Regions from separate parts of the Homo sapiens genome. Here regions 2, 3, 4, 5, 6 and 7 are each linked to region 1. Evidence: promoter capture Hi-C in 16 types of primary human blood cells and fetal thymus (Javierre and others, 2016). All regions are on one chromosome and are shown on one strand. Each heading gives the region's core, a stretch centred on a gene start or on the middle of the fragment in contact. The rest is flanking DNA. Distances are from core to core; before and after follow the strand shown.

The links. Contacts are between HindIII fragments. The CHiCAGO score rates a contact against its expected background, and 5 or more counts as called.
Region 2: a contact is called between a fragment that was not itself captured here and the fragment with the promoter of ZNF22 in region 1, in 8 of 17 cell types (naive CD8 T cells, total CD8 T cells, activated CD4 T cells and 5 more). The highest score is 14.4, in naive CD8 T cells.
Region 3: a contact is called between the fragment with the promoter of HNRNPF here and the fragment with the promoter of ZNF22 in region 1, in 5 of 17 cell types (fetal thymus, M0 macrophages, naive CD8 T cells and 2 more). The highest score is 8.0, in fetal thymus.
Region 4: a contact is called between a fragment that was not itself captured here and the fragment with the promoter of ZNF22 in region 1, in 1 of 17 cell types (total B cells). The highest score is 5.2, in total B cells.
Region 5: a contact is called between a fragment that was not itself captured here and the fragment with the promoter of ZNF22 in region 1, in 1 of 17 cell types (total B cells). The highest score is 5.2, in total B cells.
Region 6: a contact is called between a fragment that was not itself captured here and the fragment with the promoter of ZNF22 in region 1, in 7 of 17 cell types (naive CD8 T cells, activated CD4 T cells, total CD8 T cells and 4 more). The highest score is 13.0, in naive CD8 T cells.
Region 7: a fragment that was not itself captured here is called in contact with the fragment with the promoter of ZNF22 in region 1 in 1 of 17 cell types (naive B cells); the score reaches 6.8 in naive B cells.

Annotation. Positions count from the first base shown.
Region 1 is chr10:44,999,472-45,002,639 of GRCh38, reverse strand. It overlaps ZNF22 (zinc finger protein 22), which reads right to left and starts at 1,717. Exons shown (of 2, transcript NM_006963.5): 1 at 1,662-1,717. LOC124902530 reads right to left here. Exons shown (of 3, transcript XM_047426129.1): 3 at 257-1,860. The coding sequence ends at 1,231. ZNF22-AS1 (ZNF22 antisense RNA 1) reads left to right here and starts at 1,837. Exons shown (of 4, transcript NR_126421.2): 1 at 1,837-2,110; 2 at 2,224-2,354. RefSeq lists an enhancer at 1,101-1,601 and a silencer at 1,328-1,677. The HindIII fragment of the contact is 6,687 bases long and covers 1-3,168 here.
Region 2 is chr10:43,138,451-43,141,618 of GRCh38, reverse strand. It overlaps CSGALNACT2 (chondroitin sulfate N-acetylgalactosaminyltransferase 2), which reads right to left. Exons shown (of 8, transcript NM_018590.5): 1 at 3,052-3,168. Among named protein-coding and RNA genes, the nearest start is that of CSGALNACT2, 1.6 kb to the right of the region's middle. RefSeq lists silencers at 2,638-2,707, 2,818-3,168. The HindIII fragment of the contact is 1,792 bases long and covers 710-2,501 here.
Region 3 is chr10:43,407,706-43,410,873 of GRCh38, reverse strand. It overlaps HNRNPF (heterogeneous nuclear ribonucleoprotein F), which reads left to right and starts at 1,688. Exons shown (of 4, transcript NM_001098204.2): 1 at 1,688-1,743. RefSeq lists silencers at 1,269-1,498, 1,949-2,068 and enhancers at 1,789-1,848, 2,579-2,918, 2,358-2,961, 2,929-2,978, 3,119-3,168. The HindIII fragment of the contact is 6,154 bases long and covers 1-3,168 here.
Region 4 is chr10:46,563,233-46,566,400 of GRCh38, reverse strand. No RefSeq gene overlaps it. Among named protein-coding and RNA genes, the nearest start is that of GPRIN2, 8.2 kb to the right of the region's middle. The HindIII fragment of the contact is 7,183 bases long and covers 1-3,168 here.
Region 5 is chr10:46,543,596-46,546,763 of GRCh38, reverse strand. It overlaps GPRIN2 (G protein regulated inducer of neurite outgrowth 2), which reads left to right. Exons shown (of 3, transcript NM_001385282.1): 3 at 1-3,168. Among named protein-coding and RNA genes, the nearest start is that of GPRIN2, 11 kb to the left of the region's middle. The HindIII fragment of the contact is 341 bases long and covers 1,268-1,608 here.
Region 6 is chr10:43,569,924-43,573,091 of GRCh38, reverse strand. The region is part of intron 2 of ZNF239 (zinc finger protein 239); the gene reads left to right. Among named protein-coding and RNA genes, the nearest start is that of ZNF239, 3.1 kb to the left of the region's middle. The HindIII fragment of the contact is 2,814 bases long and covers 40-2,853 here.
Region 7 is chr10:43,587,677-43,590,844 of GRCh38, reverse strand. No RefSeq gene overlaps it. Among named protein-coding and RNA genes, the nearest start is that of ZNF239, 15 kb to the right of the region's middle. The HindIII fragment of the contact is 190 bases long and covers 1,637-1,826 here.

The DNA.
Region 1 (3,168 bases), core at 468-2,967:
ACTTAGTCTATGAAGACACGCTTTATTATTGGTTTTTATAGATCCTAATGATCCAAGAAAGCAATTTGTTGAAAACCCAAAACGAAAGTACTGTTTTCGGAGACAGAAAAACTGCAAAAGAACTTTTACCAGAAAGTGGAATGAAACTGAGTAGAAAACGCATGGTAGGTAGGACACAAGAAAAGGAGAGGGGGGAGAAAATGAGTTTACATGTAAAACTAGGATGGAATTTTTAGAATACCCAAATGCTGCAAAATTCAAAATTTCAAATGATTTTATTTATTTATAAGGCTGACTTGTGGCTATTTAAAATAACGGCCAAAACAAACCAACAAAAACCCCTACAAACCCCACATAGGTGGCAATGTCGGAAAATCTAGAACTTCAAAAGCAATAAAATTATTGGAACTATTTTTCATTATCTTGTGTCAGAATGTGGAATTTAAAATAGAAACAATTATTCTGGGTTTCTTTGCATACAAACATATAAAGCAAATAAATGAAAACAAAAACATAATTTTTCTTGCCTTCCTTTCATCTTATTGTATAATTGAGACTTTAGGTCCAGGACTTTATCTGGATATTTAATAATTACATCAGCTGTAATTATGGTCAGCGTAAGAGTAAGCCGCATATAACACAAGATTACAGTTAGGACTACCCACTCCTTAACTTAAGCAAATATTTACAGAACATCTACCACACAGGAGACATTGTGTTAGGTACATGGTGTTGGTGTTGCTTTTTTTTTTTTTTAATAACTATAATGGTCATTATACATAAAAGCACACGCATTTAATACAATGGAAGTCAGATCTAGTCAGAAACTCAGACTGTCAAATCCACCTACGGATGAGGCAATCATACTAGTATGTGCCAGACACTGTGTAACTTGATTCTGTGCTAGCTCTTTAATTCTCCTGGCACCTTTATGCAGTTATTTCCGTTTTAAGTTAAGGAAACGAGGGCACAATGCTAGAAGGCACTGGCCGGGTTCCCAGACCCTAGCAGTTTGACTCCAGAGCCTGTACTCTTAGTGGCAGCCACATCTTCCATTGCTCAGTCCAGCGCGGCGACCCGTGCTTTGCATAGCTCCCCAGCAGGGGCAAGCACGAAGTTAAACCTGAGTGACAGAAGCTGCTGTTCTTGCACACCCAGCTAACTGGAATGTGCCTCAGTTTCCTCGTAAAATGGGGAGGGTAATGATAAAGTGGCAACACCATCAAGATGTTAGAAGTTGCAATGAGTCTGAATCTGAAAACCGCTCAGAGCAGCCCTGTGCTGCCTAAGCATTTGTTCCACGTATCTAGTCCTCGAACGCTCCGAGCGACGGAAGGGGCCGGGGCTGCTGCTCACCCGCCCAGTTCCACCCGCCGCGGGCCGCGCCTCGCCCGGGCCCCCAGTCCAAGCCTCCCGTTCCCAGCACTCCGCCGGCCGCTCCTCATTGACCCGGCCCGCCCGCCGCGCAGGCCGCGGCCCCACCCTGGGCCCGCGTGGCCCTCCCGCCCCCGCCCGGCGGCCAGGCCCTGCCCGGAGGCGGGAGACGCAAGCCACGCCATCGCCCGGGCCCGCGCCGCCCTCGTTGCGGCCAGCGCGCTCCCGAGCGGACCCGAGTATCCGACGCAGGCCCCGAGCGCCCCAAGTGCCCCAATCCCACTCACCGCGCGGGACCAGCCACCACTCTGGCTCGCTGGGCGCCTCCCGCGCCGCCGGAAGTGAGGGCCTCGCCGCGCTCTGGCGCCGCCGCGGTCGCTCTAGGAAAGTGGCGGAGCGACCCTCTATGGTCCCGGGCCCACCCGAAAGCGTTGTTCGTTTCTTCCTGTGGTTTTGTTTTCTCCTCCCCCCAACTCGGAAGGCGTCCTGTGACCCCCGGGACCTCAAGAGCTGTAACCGCCCCTGTGTGTGGTCGAGGCTTTTGAAACCAAACTCTAGCCTCTCCAACCTAGAAACTGCATACTTTCCACAAATTTTGAGATTTTTGAGACCCTGGTACTTTTCACGAAGTCACCTTAATTATCACCAAAAAGCTCCTGCAAGATGGGAGTGGTTATACTCCATTTACAGGAAAGGAACCAAGGCTCAGAGAAGAAATGTGCTCCGTTCACCGTGTGTAAGCGGACGACCCAGAATTGGAATGGTTCTTTGTGGCTCCAAAGTCTGATTTCAACACACCCCTTTTGTTGCTCATTAGTAATGATCTCTCTTTGTTCTTATTCCTTCCAGGCTCCTCCTCAGCCATCCTGGCCGTGCTCAGTCATCTGACCAGCTGACCTCCGTGTTCCCCCACTCCCTGGGGAGCTCCTCCGCCTTTTGGCTTCCAATGCTATTGCTGCATGCTGAAGACTCCCGCATTGGTAACTCCAGTCTGACTGTGGGACATAAATGTTATTGAACTTTAGACTTGTATATCGAACTGATTACTCAAGAGCTGCATTTGCATGTGTAATGGACATCCCAAACCTAACATACCCCCCAAATGAATTCCTGATATCTACCTAACCTGTTCTTGCAACAGTCTTCTTCCCAGGGATGGGTGAAGATCCCATCATCTTTCCAGTTGCTCAAGCCAAAAACCTTGATGTCACTGTTGTCTCTTCTTTTTTTCATCCAAAATTCACCTGTGATTTATCCACAAATTCTGTCGGCTTCATCGTTAAAATATATTCATTATCAAGCCACTTTCAACACTTCCACTGCTATAACCACCAAGCCACCTTCATCCACCTTCTGGATTATTATATTGGCTTCCAGACGGGTTGCCCTACAGTCTATTCACGGCCCCAGAGTAATCCTCTTAAACCTAAGTTAGATCATGTCATTCATTTGTTCAAAACCTTCAAAGGCTTCCCAACTTATTAGAGCAAAGCCAAGGACCTCGCAGTGGCACCCGATGCCTCTCATGATCTGTCTCTTTAGTTCTTTATTGTGTCTGCAGTGCTGAAAACAGTGCTCAGCAGGGAACAGACACTCAGTAAATAGCTGTTGAATGAATGAATTTATAAGATGCCTTATTGTTTACAAAGTACTTTTACATCTTATCTTCTGGTTATTCATCTTCACCATAGTCTCATGAAGCACAGATTATCATATCTGTCTTGCAAATCAGTAAACTGAAGCAAGAGAGGCTGACCTGCCTGAAGTAATACAGTGGTTTGTTGGTGGAGGCTA
Region 2 (3,168 bases), core at 356-2,855, 1.9 Mb after region 1:
GTTTCACTGTCAGCCAGGCTGAAGTGCAGTGGCAGCCTCCACTGCCTGAACAGCTGGGACGACAGGTGTGCACTACCATACTGCTAATTTTAAAAATGATTTGTGGCCAGGTGCGGTGGCTCACGCCTGTAATCCCAACACTTTGGGAGGCTGAGGCAGGTGGATCATGAGGTCAGGAGATCAAGACTATCCTGGCTAACATGGTGAAACCCGTCTCTACTAAAAATACAAAAATTAGCCGGGCATGGTGGCGGGCGCCTGTAGTCCCAGCTACTCGGGAGGCTGAGGCAGGAGAATGGCGTGAACCTGGGAGGTGGAGCTCGCAGTAAGCCGAGATGGCGCCACTGCACTCCAGCCTGGGCAACAGAGCCAGACTCCGTCTCAAAAAAAAAAAAAATTATTTGTAGAGACAGGGTCTCATTATGTTGCCTAGGCTGCTCTCAAACTCCTGGAATCCAGAGATCCTCCTGCCTCGGCCTTCCAAAGTGTTGGAATTACAGGCATGAGCCACCACACCTGGCCCTTTCCTACTTTCCATGTTTAAATATTCAAGAATCAATTGCTTTTTTTCATGGCAGCCTGTATGTGTTCAGTAGGCATAATACCTTAACAAATTTGAAGATACTAATACTTACTTTAAAGCTTTCTTTTGTCTTACATTAGCTCCACTGCTTCAGTGCCTAGTTCTGTATTTGTTTGGTCTGAAGCTTCTCTTAGATGCTACCGATTTCCCACAAATGTTTAGTGATTTTTGTTGTGTGTTCACATTATAAATGTGCTAGTAGTATCTCAGTCCATATGAAAATCACTGTACTCCTGCTGTGAATTCACATTTGTAACTAGCCCTATAATTCAATTTTACACTTATACCTAGTGCTTGTGTAGCATGACAATAACAATGTAAGTTCTTTGACTTGCAGTCCCGTGATTCTTCAATCCACTTTCAGTCATATCCTTTTGGTATTTCATTTCCTCTAAAAAACCACTAACTTGAGTAATACAGTTCTTAAGTAAATGTTATGCTAAACTTCAGAGTCAGATCCTCACCAGCTCTAACAGACTTGTCTAACAGTTAAACAAACAATGACAGTCCGACAGAAGACAGTCATAAATGTGCAATTCAAAGGGTAAATAATAACATGGTAATGAATGAATCACTTACGTCTTGAACTCATAATAGTTATGCTTTTTTAAAACCAACCTTGAATGTTATATTAGTTAAAATAACAAATTCTATTACATTAAAAAAAAGATGACTCCATGTTGGTTAAATTTTCTGCCTTTGGTTGGTAATGGTATGGTTGGTAATGACTCCATGTTGGTAATTTTCTGCTTATGCCATGACTCAGTCATTCTATAGCTGACAGAAATGCATACAGATGCTCACCAAGACATTTAATTTACAAGAATGTCCACAGTACTCTTTTTTTTTTCTTTTCTTTTTGAGACCGAGTCAGGCTCTGTCGTCCAGGCTGGAGTGCAGTGGCACGATCTCGGCTCACTGCAACCTCCACCTCCCGCCTCAGCCTCCCAAGTAGCTGGGCTTACAGGCGCCCGCCACCACGCCTGGCTAATTTTTGTATTTTTAGTAGAGATGCGGTTTCACCATGTTTGCCAGGCTGGTCTCGAACTCCTGACCAAGTGATCCACCTGCCTCGGCCTCCCCAAGCGCTGGGATAAAAGGCCTGAGCCACCACGCCAGGCCCACAGTATTCTTAATATCCAAAACACATCATATACAAAAATTGGGAACATAAATGTCCATCAACTGAAGAGTAGTCACATATTATTCAATAGACTATTACACAGTAATAATACAATACCATGAAATAGCATGGGTGTGTCCCACAAACAATATGCTGAGAATACTACGTGATTCCATTAACATGAAGCTCAAAACAGAGAAAACTAAAAGCAGATAAGAGAAGTTAGAATACAGATGGGAAAACAAGGATATAACTGACTTGGAAGAAGCACAGGAAAATAGGATGATGGAAATGTTCTATGGTTATAATTTGATATATCTGGTGGTTCCACAGGGTAATAAGTATGTAAAAATTCATTGAGCTGTACAATTAAGATTCGTGCTCTTATTGATTTCATATGTATTTTATGCCTCGACAAAAACAAAGAGAAAAATGCAGCTTCTAAACTGGTTGGAACTGTGTTTATTTAGGCCAAAATCCTCTGAGCCACAAATACTGGAAATCCATCTTTTTTCATTCTTTTAGTTACATGACAACTTTAAACAAATGGTACAAGAACAATAATACAAAATGAACGCTAACACTCAGTCCTAAAATACTTGGCTTCTTACTTCCAAGATCGAAGCTACTATTTTAATACAACATTCAAAAAACAACATTAATTACCAGACATGAAGGCCCTGCTCCCGCGAGCCTTGAATGACGGTGAAACGTCACGACATCCCATATCTATCTCAAAAGCACGCTAGAAAATACCTCCAAGTTTAACAAGCCAAGGACTCAGGAAGAGAAGCTTCAGATGTATAATCAAACTATCATACCGCCAATACCATCATCACAAACAGAAGTATCACTGTCGTGCTTCCTGCGTTGCTCAAGGGTAGAGTCATTTTTAAGGTGCATTCTCCGACAACGCCAGAGGCTCCCCATCTCCTCCGCCCCACTGAGCCCTCCACGACAGAGCATCTTTACCGGCGCTCGCTCTGCCATCTACAGATAAAGAGGGGCTGAGGGCAGAACTATTTTAACGCGATGACGAGGTCACCACTGATTAAAAAGTTTATCCACTGAGAGGAGCAGAGATGGTGATGAATAGGTAAAAACAAAACGAAACAAAACAAAACCCAACACTGACAAGCGAACCAATCGTCTCTGGCCGCGCTTTCCCTAAAACCGGTGCCGACTCCGGCAGGCTCATCCCTGAGAGACAGGGCCCCCCGCAGGACCGGTCCGCTAGGCGACCCCACCCGACCACACAGGAGCCCGCAGCCCCGGCGCCCGCACCGCCCGGGCCGGAGCCGGCGGGAGTCGCGGACCGGCGGGCGAGGCCGGGCCAGGTACTCACCGCGCTCGCCCGCTCTGCGCTCCACCGCCTCCTGCGCCGCGGGGACACCCGGGCGGCGCCTCACGCCTTGGGCCCGCCGCCGCCTCAGCCACCCACCCCCGGGCGCGCCGCCGCGCC
Region 3 (3,168 bases), core at 439-2,938, 1.6 Mb after region 1:
ATCTGATTTTTGCAGGAACTATTTTCTGTAATTTTGCCTCAAATTATGCAGTTTTCTCTTTGGACATTTTTACCTATTCTGACAGCTCCTGCTTTACTCTTTCCATTCTCTTTCTTGGAACTAGCTTTTTCTTTTAACAAACTCCTTCCTTCATCACAATCATCCCACTCATCATCTGACACTATTTTGAGCACTCCTTTACTTTCTCTGGTGATTTAAAAAATAACGTTCAGCCAGATGCGTGGCTCAATCCAGTAATCCCAACACTCTGGGAGGCGTAGGTGGGCGGATGGCTTGAGTCCAGGAGTTCCCGACCAGCCCGGGCAACACAGCGAAACCTCGCCTCTACAAAAAATACAAAATTTAGCCGAGAGTGGTGGTGCTACTCAGGAGGTTGAGGCAGGAGGATCGCTTGAGCCCAGGAGGTCGAGGCTGCAGTGAGCCGTGATTGTACCACTGCACTCCCGCCTGAATGACAGGGCGATACTCAGTCTGGAAATAATAACAATAGTAACAATGTTCAGCTTAACCTGTGATGAGTGCCTTGACATCATCTCTTCATGAAGAAGATCCACCAAAATAAAATGGTTACAATTATTAGCCCTACAATACATCAAAAAAAAAAAGAAAAGAAAGAAAATCTGTCCCTGGCTTAGCCATTAGCCACCAAATCTGTGTGTTCAGGTGCTCTGTGACTGAAAATCTTGCCCTCGACCTGGGTCTGAGTTACATTCTGAGGTTTGGGGGCTTCTCACACCACGGAATTTATCACCTGAGCAACTTCAACCTGACAAATCCCTCCTAACGCCCTGCTCTGAGACCCCTTTAGGCGGTCTCCGGAGTACTCAGTGTACCTTTTTTTTTTTTTTTTCTTTGAGACGTAGTCTCGCTCTGTCGCTAGGCTGGAGTGCAGTGGCGCGATCTCGGCTCACGCAAGCTCCGCCTCCCGGGTTCAAGCGATTCCCCTGCCTCAGCCACCCGAGTGGCTGGGACTACAAGCGCGCGCCACCACGCCTGGCTAATTTTTTTGTATTTTAGTAGGGGTTTCACTATGTTGGCCAGGATGGTCTCGATTTCCCGACCGCCTGATCCGTCCGCCTCGGCCTCCCAAAGTGGTGGGATTACAGGCGTGAGCCACCGCGCCCGGCCTTCAGTGTACTACTTTCCTTATTTTATTTTTTGAGACAGCGCCTCGCTCTGTCGCCCAGGCTGGACGCAATGGAGCAGTCACGGATCACTGCAGCCTCGACCTCCCGGGCTCAAGCGATTCTCCCGCCTTAGCCTCCCAAATTACTGGGACCACAGGCTTGCGCCACCACGCCCTGCCATCGGCTCTCATTTCCTTTTCCCATCCTAGTCTTCCATCAGGCGTCCTTTCGGCGCACATTTCAGTGTCCTGCGGGGCTCACCAGTGTCCTTCCTCCAGGGCCTCAGGGGCAGTCAGAGGGATCTTTCCCGCCGCTCCACTCCCTCCTCCTCCTCCCCCTCCCCCTATCCCCTCCCCTCCCCTCCCTTCTCCTCTCCAGAAACGTCCTCGCTTGTCCGCCTCCACCGCCTCCCCCGCCAGCCGTGTCGGCTCTGCTCCGCGCCCAGCCGGCCAACCGGCGGCTCAGCTCTGGCGCGTCACAATGCGCCGTCGCGGCCCCGCCCCCGGACGCCGGACGCAGAAACTCCGCCCTGCCGCGGTCCTTGCGTCCTTCCGGCTCCGTCGTGGAAGCAGGACTGCGCCGCGTCTTCCTCAAGGTGGGGTTCGGGGGGCCACCGAATCGCTGTCACGCCGGCAGGTAGCAGGGGGTGGGGACGCGGGCTCCTTGGGCTTCTGTTTCCTGGTGTCCAGGGCAAAGGGCTGAGCCGGGCAGTAGGGCCTAGTCGGGGCCTGGCTCGCCGGGAGCAGGAGGGCTTCCGGCAAAGCCGCGTGCGCTCGACGGGCAGGCGCTGAGGATTGGGGCCGGCAGCGCGCCTGACCCCGCCCCTCGTAGGCTCCGCCCCGTGCTCGCAGGCGGGGGTTTCCATGGTGATGGTCAACAAGCCTCAACTGCCTCTGCTACAACTGCCAAGTTCCCCGCGTCCCACCCTCCTCTAGGTGCTCCAAGGGACCACCGGGGTGCCTGATATGAGAGCGGGAGTGTAGAGACTCGGAGGCCGAGGTGAGGGGCGGCCGAAGTCTCCGAGGTCGAAGGCCGCACACCCGGGACCTAGCGGGGACCGGGTCCCCCTGGGGGTGGGGACGGGGGGTGGGATTTGAGATTAGGGAGACTATCCGAAGTCCAGGGCCCCGTACCCGGACTACCTGGGGACTGGGCCTATTGGGGTGGGGATCGTTGGGCTGGGGCTGGGATTTGGGATCAGGGAAGAGCGATCTGAGTTTAAGCGCCGCAAACCTGGGACCGAGCGAGGACTGCACATAATGAGGGGCCGTGGCGCTGAGATTTGGGTGACGGGATTCGAGGTCGAGGGGCCCGTACGTGGGACCGGCAAGAACTGGACCCACTGGGATCGGGAGACGCAGCGTCGGAGGTCGAGAGCCGCACGCCCAGACAGTGGTCCCACGCGGTGAGCACCGCGGGCTGAGATTTTGGAGTCAGGAAAGCGCGGGGAAGGCACGGACGGCCGGGTGCGTTAGTCCGGCCCCCTGGCGGGGAGCTGGCGACTGCCGGAGGGCTCTGAAAGTGAGAACAGGCCTGGCGCAGTGGGAGGCCCAGCCGGGAGGATCTCTTGAGCCCAGGAGTTCCCGACAAGCCTGGGCAACATAGACTGTCTCTACTGAAAAGTAAAGAAAAAAAAATTAGCCACGTGTGGTGGCGCGCGCCTGTTGTCCCAGCTACTCGGGAGGCTGAGGCGGGAGGGTCGCTTGCTCTGAGGTCGAGGCTGCAGTGACAGTGATTGTGCCACTGCATTCCAGCCGGGCGACGGAAATGAGACCTTGTCTCAAAAGAAGTAATAATAGTAATAATACCTGAGTAAAATGAAAGCCGCGCGCTCACGTGGCTGCAGGCGCCTGAGAGTTGCACAAGACTTCCTTGTGGGGAGTTGGCTCCGCCCTCCTCCCACGCCCGGTTCCCGTAGCCTTAGCTCTCGGCCCCGGGCCCTTTTTCCTCCTCGGCTGCGCCGCGTGTCCTCGGAGCGCGGTCCCTGTATTGGTCTCCTGCTCCTAGAGGTATCGTGTTT
Region 4 (3,168 bases), core at 287-2,786, 1.6 Mb before region 1:
ACAGTAATGGCTAGTACAGTTAACTTGGCACTGTCCTTGTTCCTTAAACTCTTGTCCATGGACTTAGAGCTGTGAGGACATAAACATAATCCAGGAGTTCCCAAGACCCACTATGTAGGGAGAGCCTGGCTAAAAGAGAGAGGTGCCAGTTCTGATGACATCATTTAAGCTAGGGGCTCTGGCCAAGCCCGGTTACCCTGGACTGTTGACTTACAAGAAACAGTGAAAAGTCCCTTTGGTGCTTAAGCCAATTTGAGTTGGGTTTCTGCCTCTTGAAGTCAGAAGAGTATTGCCTAATACAATAATTCTGTGTAGGCATACAAGACACATCAGTGGTGGTACCTGCCATGCCCGCAGCCCTAGAGGAGGAGACAGCCAGCAGGTGGCCCTATTTTAGATCATGTAACAGTTGGACAAGAGCAAGCAAACACCTGACTCAGGCTCTGAATCAGGCTGGTCAGGATTTGTGAGTTTTCCTCTGGCATTAAAGATGACCTATGTCTATCCAATTTCTCTTTTTTAAATTGGAAGTTGAGAAACAGGGCAGGAGCGAGACAGCCAGCTGCAAGGGAAGAAGCATGAAGGATATGTGAAGAGGTGCCACTAGGAGGAGCTGGCGTGGTGGCAACTCAGTTTCAAAGCAGCAGAAATTCAGCATCAGGAGAGGGCGCCAGTTGGTGGAAAGAGCTGGCAGAGCACAGTCAGGAGGAAACCTGTCTAGGAAGCTCCATGAAGAGAGGGAGCAATGGCTATTTCTGAAGTTGTCTCGCCTATTCCTGAGGACTTTTCAATTCTGGTTCAAATCCTCATGCATCCTTATAACAAACCCATTTTTTCCCCCAAACAAGTTGCAGGTGGTCTGAGACCAAAGCAGACATCCCCCTTCCATGTTGCCTCTGTAACCCTCCCACGGTGACCAGCGTATCACTAAGGACACTTTTGGTAGCAAAGGATGGAAATATAATGCAAATTGGTTTTTAAAAAAGGAAATGTATTGTCTTCCTTAATTGAGATGTCAAGGGATGAGACTAGCCTTAGTCCTCACTGAGGTCAAGGCTCCCGGGATGTTCTCGGGAACTTGCTTCTGCACATCCTCACTTTGTCCTTCTCTGGGCGGCTCCAGTATCCGGCTTCATGTAAGATGGTGGCTTCATCGCCACATTCCCTTGGGGAATAGAATGAGTTTCTTTCTCCAGATTCCCAGATAAAGTATTTATCATTGGATCTAAGTGGGGTACACACTTATCCTGAACAATCTCTGGCCAGGAAACTGATACAGTGATTGGCTGAGGCCTAGCATACACCCCTCCTCTAAGACCCACATGAGCGTAGAGGAGGTAGAGTGTGAGTAATATCTTTGTGGAATATATGTTGAACTGCTGGAAGAGAGACTTCAAATAAGATTGGCTTAAGCAAGATAGAAGTTTCTTTCTCCCTCACCTGCCTGCAGGTAAGCAGCCTGGGAGCCCAGGTTTTTTTTTCCCCATCTTGTTGCTTCTCTATCCCTAGGTATTGTGATGTGAGATGTTTCACCATCACCTCCACTGCCTAGCCAGTGGAAACGGAAAAGGCGGAAGAGGAGGGCTCGCCCCTCTGGTTAAAAGTGTCACCTCTCCCTACTTCAATGCTGCTGGTCAGTTACTTGGCCAAATATAGCTTCTAGGAAGTGAGGAAATACAGTATTTTTTTTCTGGATTTCCGTATCTCCAGATAAAAAACAAGAATTCTTTAAACATAGGAGATGAGTGTGATCGGGGGCAATTAGCAATCTCAGCCCCAGCCTGTCCCATTGGCCAGTCAAATTTCCATGTGTCCCCTCCCCAGGGGAGACAACCCTAAAGTTGCATCCAGTGCCTATGTCCAGCTCCAAGCCTGGGACCTGTGGAGGGACAGCCTGCACCATCAGATCTGATGTGGTTTTTGTTTTATTTTTGTTTTTTTAGACAAGTTCTCACTATGTTGCCCAGGCTGGTCTCGAACTCCCGGGCTCAAGCAATCCTCCCATCTTGGCCTCCCGAAGTGCTGGGTTTACAGGTGTGAGCCACCACACCAGGCTTCTGGATGCAGTTCTTTATGGTGTGTTGCCCCGGAACCCTTACATACATTGCCTGCCTCCTTACACCCAATATGCAACAGCCAGTAAAAATAAGATAAACATGGTGGGAAACCTCATCCAGAAGAGGGAAAAACACACCCACCAAATCCTGGTGGGCAGAAATTGTGAAGGCTCCCAGGGAGTGGAGCAGAGTCCTTGGATGACAGCGCCTCTCTCCAGGAGTATTCCCTGGGATAGACATCTTTGGACCTTGGTGGTCCCCTCTTTGTCCACTGCCTTCCATGGCACAACTAAAGGGCATCAAACGGTGTATCCCTCTTAGGGCTATACAGCTTAAACATTTTTTTTTAGAGAGAAGGTCTTGCTGTGTTGCCCAGGCTGGACTCGAGTGCCTGGGGCTCAGGCAATCCTCCCACTTCAGCCTTCAGAGCAGCAGGGACTACAGGCACATGCCACCACACTGGGCCTGGGCTGCATAGCTTTTGCAGCCCACTTTTTGCAGGTGCAGGTTTGGTGGGTAGGGGTCGGTTGATTTAAGGAGTCAAAAATGCAGACTTGTACCAGCCAGACTCATGGTTCTTTGGTAACACATGCCCCTTAAAATCTCAGTTGGCTTTCTGCCTATTTGTGGCTAGTTATCCTCTGGGGCAAGTACAGGTTGGGTATCCCTTATCTGAAATGCTCGGGGCCAGAGTGTTTCATATTTCAGATTTTGGAATATTTGCATTATCCTGGCTGAACATCCCTAATCTGAAAATCCAAAATCTGAAATGCTCCAATGAGCATCATGTGTGCTCAAGAAGTTTTGGATTTTAGAGCATTTTGGATTTCTGGGTTTTTGGTTTAGTGATGCTCAACCTCCTTTAGATTAGCAGTATTTAAGCCTAAAAATGGTGGCCTTTTATTTATCAGCCTGTATGTTATATCTATTCACCTCCCTCTCAACCTGAGACCAGCGAAAACACTCAACTTGGACTGGAAGGCAGCTTCCTTGATCTGGTCTTTGTGGCCGAGCGGCTGTCATTGTCAGGTTGAGAAACGTAATCAAGTGTTTGAGAAAGACTAGGGTCCATAGTCTCGTCTCCTGCTAATCCTGCTTCTTCAGAAAATTA
Region 5 (3,168 bases), core at 189-2,688, 1.5 Mb before region 1:
AGGTCTACCTGAAGTGACTGCAGCCTCATTTCTGATTGGAACTGGAGACCCCTCCCAACCCCCTTTGCTGTGCCCTCTCCTGGAACAGCCCTGATGCCTGCAGTGGTTTAGGGCCCCAGAGCATGGCCAGCGGTTTAGTTTACAGATCTCCTCCCCTTGGACTCTAGATTTCTGGCCAGACTTTCTGGGTCCCTTTCAGGCCCTGCTCTGGGAGGTGTTGGAGTTCACTGTTGATGTGTTTGTTTGGCTTTGAATTCAAAACAGATACAAATTTGGAGGTGAGAGCTTTGCCAGACCCCAGCAGGGATGGGGCATCGGTCCTGACTGGTCTTGTTTATTTTGTCCTGGTAAATTCTGTTCTTTGGAGCATAAACCCTGGAGTCCTAGAGCCCCTTGCCTCAGCAGGAATCCCCCCTCTGTCTGCTCCAGGGGCTCCCTGCTTCTGCCCACCTGCTCTCCTTCCATGGCATTCAGGACCCCCGACAGCTGAAGCCTCTCTTCATATAGCTTGTCCCCTCTGGGCCTGCCTGTCTTGTGTCCAGGACACAAGACACGCATCCCTTGTCTGGCCCCAGGCTGCCATCACTGTCACAAGAAACTCATAGAGTAGAGCTGGTCTGAGGTCACAGTGCTGGTGGTGGTGGAAAAGCAGGGATGGCCTGTTCCACTGTGATCTTACCTCCTGTGTCACCTGGATTGGGTCTCTGTCCCCTTAGACATGCTAGATCCTAACTTTACAAGGGCTGAAGGGGTCTTCTACACGCAGGTCCCAACACTTTGGGCTGGGGTTGGCCACCGTAGCTTAGTGGGCTAAAGCTGGAGTTTGAATCTGGATATATAGGATCCACACCTATAGCCATGTGATCTTGGGCAAGTTACAAGCCTTGATCATCTTCCTCATCTGTAAGATGGGGATGACAATGGTGCCTCCTTCACATGCTTGGTGTGGAGATTAAATAGAATAACCCAAGTAGTGCCTGGCACTGAGTTAGTGCTCAGCACACAGGCTGGTAGTGTTGGGCACCCCTCTCATAGCCACATTCAGGGGCCACCTCTTACCCTGCCAGCTTGGCTGTGATCACAGCCCACATCCCACTTCCTTAAAAGTCCCTTGTTCAGAGCCTCTTTCCAGGTTCCTCGCCCCACAGCTTTGCACCCTGCCTGGGACTTGGCCCTCTGGCTGGGGCTTCTGAAAATGTAGTTCCCAGAGTGCATTGAGGAGGGCTACCCTAGCCCTCACCACTCATCTTGGGCTGGGTTCCCCAGAAGCTTCTGCTGAGATGAGGATGCTGGAGTTATTAGGGAGGGGAGAGCAAGTTAAGGGAGGGGCAGAAGGCAAGGCAGGGTGTGATTTCAGTCCAAGTCAGACCCTAAAGGGGAGCCCTGGATGCAGTCCCACCTCAGAGTAAGGACTACCCAGGGGTGAAGATGTAGCCTCCAGGCACTTCTGCTCTCTGGCAGGCAGGCTAGGAAGCTCTAGGAGCCCCAGGGTAGGTTTCTGCTGGAGTCGTAGGGCCTATTTTGGGGGAAGTTGTGCACAGAAACCACCAGAGGGAGTCACAGGCATCTGGGGGTGCACCCATTGACATTTGCATCCATGTCATGCCAAGCTTGTAGCCCACAAATGCCCAACCCTTTTCTCCATGCATTGCTCTGTCTCAGTTTTGTTCACGCCAAGCAGCCTTGGTTAGTTAAATGCAGAGCTTGGCATTTGCCCATGTTAAATTCCTTCTCCTTTTTCATTCTGGCCTGGCCTGGTTTTGCCATCTGAAGCTATGACAAGTCCTTTATCAGTTTTCATCCAACTTGTCAGGCAGGGCAGGGCTGGTATGAAGCCCAGGACATATCACTGGGACATCCCATAGGTCTGTGAGATTCCCAGGTCCCTCCAAATCCACACGGTCATCATGGGCAAATTAGTTTAAGTCTGATCTGTTAAGATCCAGATCTCTCACACCAACAGCACACACCCCTTTTTCCCATGGCCATGGAAGGAGGGTAGCATAGCCTGACTCGAGTCCTCGTTCTCAGCAGAACTGGTTCTGTGGTGGCCACTTCCCTTTCTCAACTTTTACCTACTTCTGTTTAATAGGTTGTTCTGCAAGTCTGAGAGCAACAGCAAGCTTAGAAGTGTGGACTCAGCCTGGTACAGTGGCTCATGCCTGTAATCCCAGCACTTTGGGAGGCTGAGGTGGGCTGACTGCTTGAGCTCAGGAGTTCGAAACCAGCTTGGGCAGCATGGAGAAATCCCATCTCTACAAAAAATACAAAAATTAGCTGGGCATGGTGGTGTGCATCTGTAGCCTCAGCTACTCAGGGGGTTGAGGTGGGAAGATGGCTTGAGCCCAGGAGGTGGAGGTTGCAGTGAGCCGAGATAGTGCCACTGTGCTCCAGCCTGGATGACGGAGCCAGACCCTGTTTCAAAAAAAGAAAAAGACAAGAAAGAAGTATGGACTCTACCTTCTTGCCCTTGTGGAGATTGGGAACTGCCTGCCCTTGGCCTCTTTCCTGTCCATCTTGTATTATGAAAGGCTGTTTCTGGCACACCCGGGCTCCTCTGTGTGGTTTCTGGGAAGTGACTGAGGGTCAGGGGAATGGAGCCCCTCTGCAGCCGGCCGCTGGTACCTTCCCTATTGAACCCTTCTTTAGGTTTGCTCACTCTTTTTGATGGGTGTCTTTCCAAAGCTGGCTGGGGACCTCCCTGATTGAGAGACATGGGGCCAGTTCTGTTGCTGTGGCTACACGGGAATAATAAAGCAGAAGAACACCTGAGGAAAGCTGATGTTTACTAAAAAAAAAAACAAGCGAAACCAAAGTGACGTGGGCCCATAGGATTGGGGATGGGTGGTGGGGTCTGACTGCCTTGTCCCAAGAGTTGGGTGAATGCCGCCTTTGCTCACTTGTGCGGTCACTCTCCAGGACTCCTGCCTGGCTTCTCCCACTCCAAGCCCGAGATAGCCCAGCAAGGAGGAAGGTCTGGCCCCAAAATACGAGCTCCCCAAGTGGATATCCTAAAATTCATCTTTCATGGCCCTACTTTATTGGGAGGGAATGTGAAAATTGTGGGAATATGTCCATTGACATCTGGGGCTCAGGGCAGGGGAGTGTGTCTAGTTTTAAGGTGTGCGCTTTTAGCCATGCAGTCATCGCCCAGTCTGTCCTGCCTGG
Region 6 (3,168 bases), core at 197-2,696, 1.4 Mb after region 1:
GCATCAGAACTCTCTGTGGTGTTTTTTAAGAACTAAGCTTCCTTCTCTCTTCCAGACCTAGTGAAAGGAGAGTTTCACTCCTTTTTTATTCTGTTGATCTTTGTACATCCAAAGGTTTATTGTGAAATATCTCTCTATACACTATAAGTGTCTCTAGGGTAGGTAAAATGAGTTATTCATCCTTTATACTCAGGTTGATTTGTTCTCTTTCACTAGCATGTCTACATATTTAACTGTTCCAGTAAATTTTAAATTACCAAGTCGTACTTTTTTAAAGAGAGTTTTCAGTTGTCCCCATAAAACCATCTGTAGGAGGTTACCTCAAAATTAACCCTTAGACTCCCAGGGTATTTGAGATGGTCAGCCCCCACTTAGAATCCCATGGTGTTTGAGATGGTCGGCCCCCTCTTTGCCCTGTCCTGGCGTTTTATGGTGGAGAGCTCTAACTCGGCTAACTCTGAGAGAGCCGAAGGAAAGTGCCTTGTCCTTTGTTTCAGAGAGCAGAAGGCCAGAAATAAACCCCGTGTTTTCTTCCTTCAGGCTGTTCTTTCTCCATTAACTAAACAGGTCATCACATCAGAAGTTGTTTGAATAAAATATCAGACTGCGTTTTAAGGGAAAAAAAATGTTTTTTAACACTACCAGCAAAGGCCATCTTTTTGCTTGGCAAATACAGCCCTCACACACATGAGCTCTTAGAAAAAATCTGTTTAGAGGACAGTAAGCTGACTTGAGGTACTGAGAGCATGGCTTCTCTGTGCCCTGAAAAGTAATTGAGGACTTCAAGGGAGATTAACCTTAGTAGAATCAATACATTTTCCTTCCTTCGCTTCTGCCTGCTCCCTAATGATTAAGTATTCACTGCCGCTGCAACTGGGGATTGCCAGTTTAGTAAATTTTGAGATTCTGGTGTGTGTTACACAACAACTTTTTTAATTTAAAGGAAGGACTTCATTCCAAGCATTGTGTGTTTTCTATGTACCACACATTGTCCTTAGGTCTGCTGAAAGGCGGGAGTCTTAGTTAACCCTGCTTTTCCTCTGTGACATTGGGTAAGTCACTTCGCCCTTATGAACTGTGGTTTTTTTCTCTGTAAACTGAGGGTCTTGGGCTTGACCATCTTTATGTTTTCTTTTAGTTGTATTATTATTCATTTAAATTGAATGTGAATTTATATTTATCTTTCAGATTCCAAGTCAATTGTGGTAGTTGCTGGGGATTTAAAGATGAGTTGAGGCCAGACATGGTGGCTCACACCTGTAATCCCAGTACTTTGGGAGACTGAGTGGGGAGGATCACCTGAGGTCAGGAGTTGAGACCAGCCTGGCCAACATAGTGAAACCTCATCTCTACTAAAAATACAAAAATTAGCTGGTCATGTTGATGCCTGTTGTAATCCCAGCTACTCGGGAGGCTGAGGCAGGAGAATCTCTTGAACCCGGGAGGTGGAGGTTGTAGTGAGCTGAGATCATGCCACTGCACTCCAGCCTGGGCAACAGAGTGAGACTCTGTTTCAAACAACAAAGATGAGTTGAGTGTAGCCCCTATCCTTCAGAATCTTCCAGCCAACTTGGGAGAGACTTAATAGCTATAGTAGAGGGATGTGAAAGATGCTATGAGATCTCAGAGGAGGAGAATTCTAACTCATCCTCATGCTTCAGAAAGAGGCTATTGTCCTGAGACTGAAAGCTCCAAAATGGATGGGAGAACTCAATAAGTTAGGGCTTACTATAGAAAGGACTGTGCTAGACTCAAGTGTAATGTGTTGAATGACTCCAGGTAATCTAGTGTGCCTCTTCCTGCTTTTCCACTTCAAAGTAAATTGTTAGATACAGCAGAGATGGGCTCTAGAAAGAAGTGGAAGGCCACATGATGGCATGTATGTAGTTCTGAGGAGGTCGACATTTGTCTGATAGAAACAGGAAACAATTGAACTTGTGACCTTCCTCTTTGGTTGGCCTTTAGAATATCAAGTCTGCTCTCCCAACTGTAAGCAGGAGCACAGCCTTGGAGTGACTCCTTAGTGCCACTGATACCTGGGAAGACTGTTGATTATTCAGTGTTTCAGTCCCACCTTTGTCTTGCTTTAACAGGAGCACTAATTTCCTTTCCTTTTCTCCTTTCCCTTGTCACAATGATTCTTTTCATTTGGTCTACTCCTGTCATTTTTTTTACCTACCACAAAGTTAGTAGTCCACCAACATATCCTTTCCCTTCTCAGAATGGAGTCCCGCCTGCCATTTTATCTTGAGGACCTTAAAAAATTAATAACTCTGGTTGTCTAACCTAGGGACTGGAAGATGACAAAAATTGTACTACAAAGAATTGGTAAGGAGTTATTGTAGCCTAGGTAAGAAAAAAAATAAGGGTCTTACTAAGACTGGCAGTGGAAATGGAAAAGAGGTAACACATTGGAGGGAAATTTAGGAGGCAGAATTGACAGGATCTGAAATGGTTTGAATATTGTTGAGGTAGAGAAGGAGGATTAGACAATCCAGACAACTGAATGGAAGACGGATAAAAAAATAAGGGAGAGAAAAGATAATTGGTGGGCTTGCATCTCTGAAGATAGAAGAAGGGATTTGATCTAGAATGCACAGGAAGAGATTAGCCTTAAACAGAAAGAAATTTTTTTTTCTCTGTGGTCTGAAGAGAAGGTCTGGTTGGGAAGAGCAGCCAGTCCACTTGCTTTTAATATGCCATGGGTCATGCCTTGCTAAAGGATGTGGTGATGGAGCTTGAAGGCAGCAACCTTTGCTTCTGTTTGTTTGTCCCACCTTTACTCCGGGGCTTGAGCCTCCTTTTCCAGCCCTCTTCCTCAGAATGGAGACCAGTGACCTTGAACAGAAAGCTTGGGAGACAGCACCCATCCTTACCTTCATCTTTACCCTCATCCTTCCCCACTGGTGACAAGTTGGGTAAGTCATGTCACTCCTGCAGGGCAGGCCCAAGGAAGGAGGGAGTGGTGCCTCTTTAGCCTCAGGCCAAAGCTGGCTTAGCTGATCAAATTTATGAGACAGCCTTTATGACTTTTTATATATTCTATCACTTTACTTTTGAAATTGTGCCTTAGAGAGTGGTGCCAGCCCATGCACTGTGCAGATATAAGTACTGAAATTGAGAGTTTCAAAAACAAAAAAAAACTGGTTCTTCACCACAGGTAGTTTA
Region 7 (3,168 bases), core at 482-2,981, 1.4 Mb after region 1:
TCTGCAAATGCAGTGTTCCCAAACAAGTACATTCACTATTTCTGACCAGGTCCAATTCTGTTTACAAATAGGTTTTTGAGGGCGATATGCCTCAATTATAGGAGCAGATTTATTATGGTAAATACTGAGATCAGAAAGCATGTGTAACTATGTCATAGAGTGATTACATCCAGGCATTATTGCCAGCCAAGATTGATAAATATGCCCAATAAGTATAATTGTTCTCTGTGTCAGCCCTTGCTAAAGGAATACTCATGGCAATGGTGATCACCGCTATCATAGCTATCATTAAATTACGCATTATGACTGGTTGTCACATTTTCCTCAGGTTCTCTTCCACCATCTGTGACAGCTTCTTGATCTGTCCCCAGGTAGGTGGCTGTGTTCGACAGATGTTGCTTGTGACAGTTGGGGTCCTCCTCGCATCAGTCTTGACATGGCTGCAACCGGGGGGGTCCTGGGGATCCTCCCAGAATCTCTTCCTCAGCATCTGGATCATGATAAGATTTCAGGTGTCTTGATGGTATCCAAAGTGGCTGCTGGTTCTGTCCTAGAGAAACACAAGCATAACCTCTACCCCAAGTTATTATTTTACCTATTTCCCAACTTTTTGTTATCGGATCTCTCCACCAAACCAGTTGTCCTGCTTCTGCCTTTGCAGTTGGTTTCTGTAGATGCTGTTCAGCTGCCGATAGCATCTGGCCTTTAGGCAGGCTCAAAAAATTTAAAGTCAATAATGCTAGATTCAACTGCATATGGGGTGTCCTGTAGTCCCTGTTTCTCCTCTTTGGCTTTTTCAACTGCTGTTTCAGGGAGAGATTCATTATTTCTACTATGGCTTGTCCTTGAGAATTATATGGGATGCCAGTAATGTGCTTAATATTCCACATAGAGAAAAATGTAGCTAGAGCTTGGCTAGTATAGCCTGAGGCATTATCTGTTTTAATAGAAGCTGGAATGCCCATCACTGCAAAACACTACAAAGGTGACATTTAACACAGGCAGAAGACTCTCCTGATTGGCATATAGCCCAAAGTGAGAAAAGGTGTCCACACATACATGTACATAAGCTAGTCTCCCAAATGAGGGAACATGTGTGATGTCCATTTGCTAAAAAGAATTAGGTTCCAATCCTCGAGGAGTAACTCCTCCTATAAAAGATGACGAATGCACCATTTGGCAAGTTGGGCATCGCTGGATAATAGCTTTATCTTCTTTCCAGGTAATGCTGTATCTGTGTTTGAGACCAACGGCATTAACATGGGTTAAATTGTGAAAGTGCCTGGCATTAGATATTGCGGTAGCAACTAGGTGATCAGCCATTTGATTCCCTGCAGTCAAAGGTCCTGGAAGAGGTGTATGAGCCCTAATGTGAGTGATGTAAAAAGGGTGCATTCTACTCCTAACTGCTATTTGTAATTGGGTAAATAAAGTCATCAGTTGCTCATCTGTATGAAATAGCAACTGAGCATTTTCAATTAACTGTGTGGAATGAACCATGTATGAAGAATCAGAAATCACATTAATAGGCATATTAAAAGTAGTCAATACCTCAATTACAGCTACAAGCTCTGCTTTTTGAGCTAAAGTATAGGGCATCTGGAAAACTTTACCTTTCAAGCCAGAATAAGAAGCTTTACCATTACTAGACCCTTCCGTAAAAACATTCTCAGCACCGTCAATTGGTTTAAATTTAGTTATTTTAGGCAGAATCCAATTAGTTAATTTCAAAAATTGAAACAGTTTCATTTTAGGAAAATGATTATTGAGAATACCCACAAAGTCAGCTAAATGGATTTGCCAAGTAAGACTATTTTATAAAAGCTTGCTGTATTTGTGTCTTCGTGAGTGGGACAATAATTTTTCCAGGATCATATCCATGTAATTTAACAATCCAAGTTCTCCCATTTCCTATCATAGTAGCGATTTGATCCAAATAAGGAGTTAGAGTCTGTGAATTAGTATGTGGAAGAAAAAGCTATTCTACTAAGTCCTGCTCCTGGACAATAATACGGGTAGGTGAATGCTGAGTTGGAAAAATTAGCAAATCTAGAGTCTTCTCTGGGTCTATTCTATTTATTTGGGCTTTATGGACGTGCTTTTCAATTCGCTGTAACTCTGCCTCAGCCTCCTTTGTTAATTGTCAAGGGCTAGTGAGACTAGAATCTCCTCTAAGGATAGAAAATAGATTACTCATGGCACACGTAGGAATGCCTAGAGCACGTCGCATGCAATTACTGTCCCCTAGTAATTTTTGAAAGTCATTTAATGTTATCAGTTGATCCCTATGTATGGTTACTTTCTGTGGCACAATGGTAGTGTCATTTACTAAGGTACCCAAGTAGGAGTAGGGAGTAGTAGTCTGAATTTTGTCCTGAGCTATAATTAAACCAGTGCAAGAAACCCAGTTTTGCAGGTGATCATAACCTTGGAATAATATTTCTTGAGTGGGGGCAGCACAAAGTATATTGTCCATATAATGAATAACGTAACACTGTGAAAATGTTTTACCAGTAGATTCAATTGCTTGCCCCACATAAGTCTGGCAAATTGTTGGACTGTTTAACATGCCTTGTGGCAACACTTTCCAGTGAAAATGCTTAGCAGGCTGCAGGTTGTTCACCGCAGGATTTGCAAATGCAAACCGTTCACAGTCTTGCTCAGCTAAGGGGATAGCAAAGAAACAGTCTTTTAAGTCTATGACTGTTAAAGGCCAATTTTTCGGAATCATAGCAGGAGAAGGCAGTCCTGGCTGTAATGTCCCCATAGGTTGTATAACTGAATTAATGGCTCTTAAGACAGTTAACATTCTCCATTTACCTGATTTTTTCTTAATTATGAAAACTGGAGAATTCCAAGGGAAAATGTTGGAGCTACATGTCCTTTTTCTAATTGTTCAGTAACTAAGTCCTCTAAAGCCTCCAGTTTATCTTTACTCGGGGGCCATTATTCTATCCAAATTGGCTTATCTGTTAACCATTTTAAAGGTATAGGTTCTGGAGGCTTAACAATGGCCACCATCAAAAATGATATCCTAAACCTTGGCAGGAACTTTGTCTTTCTGTGTGAAGCGGTTCCTTCAAAACTTGCAAATTTTTTTCTAGTCCCATACCAAGGACATACCCCATTTCATGCATCATATGTTGACTTTGAGGGCCATATAATTGC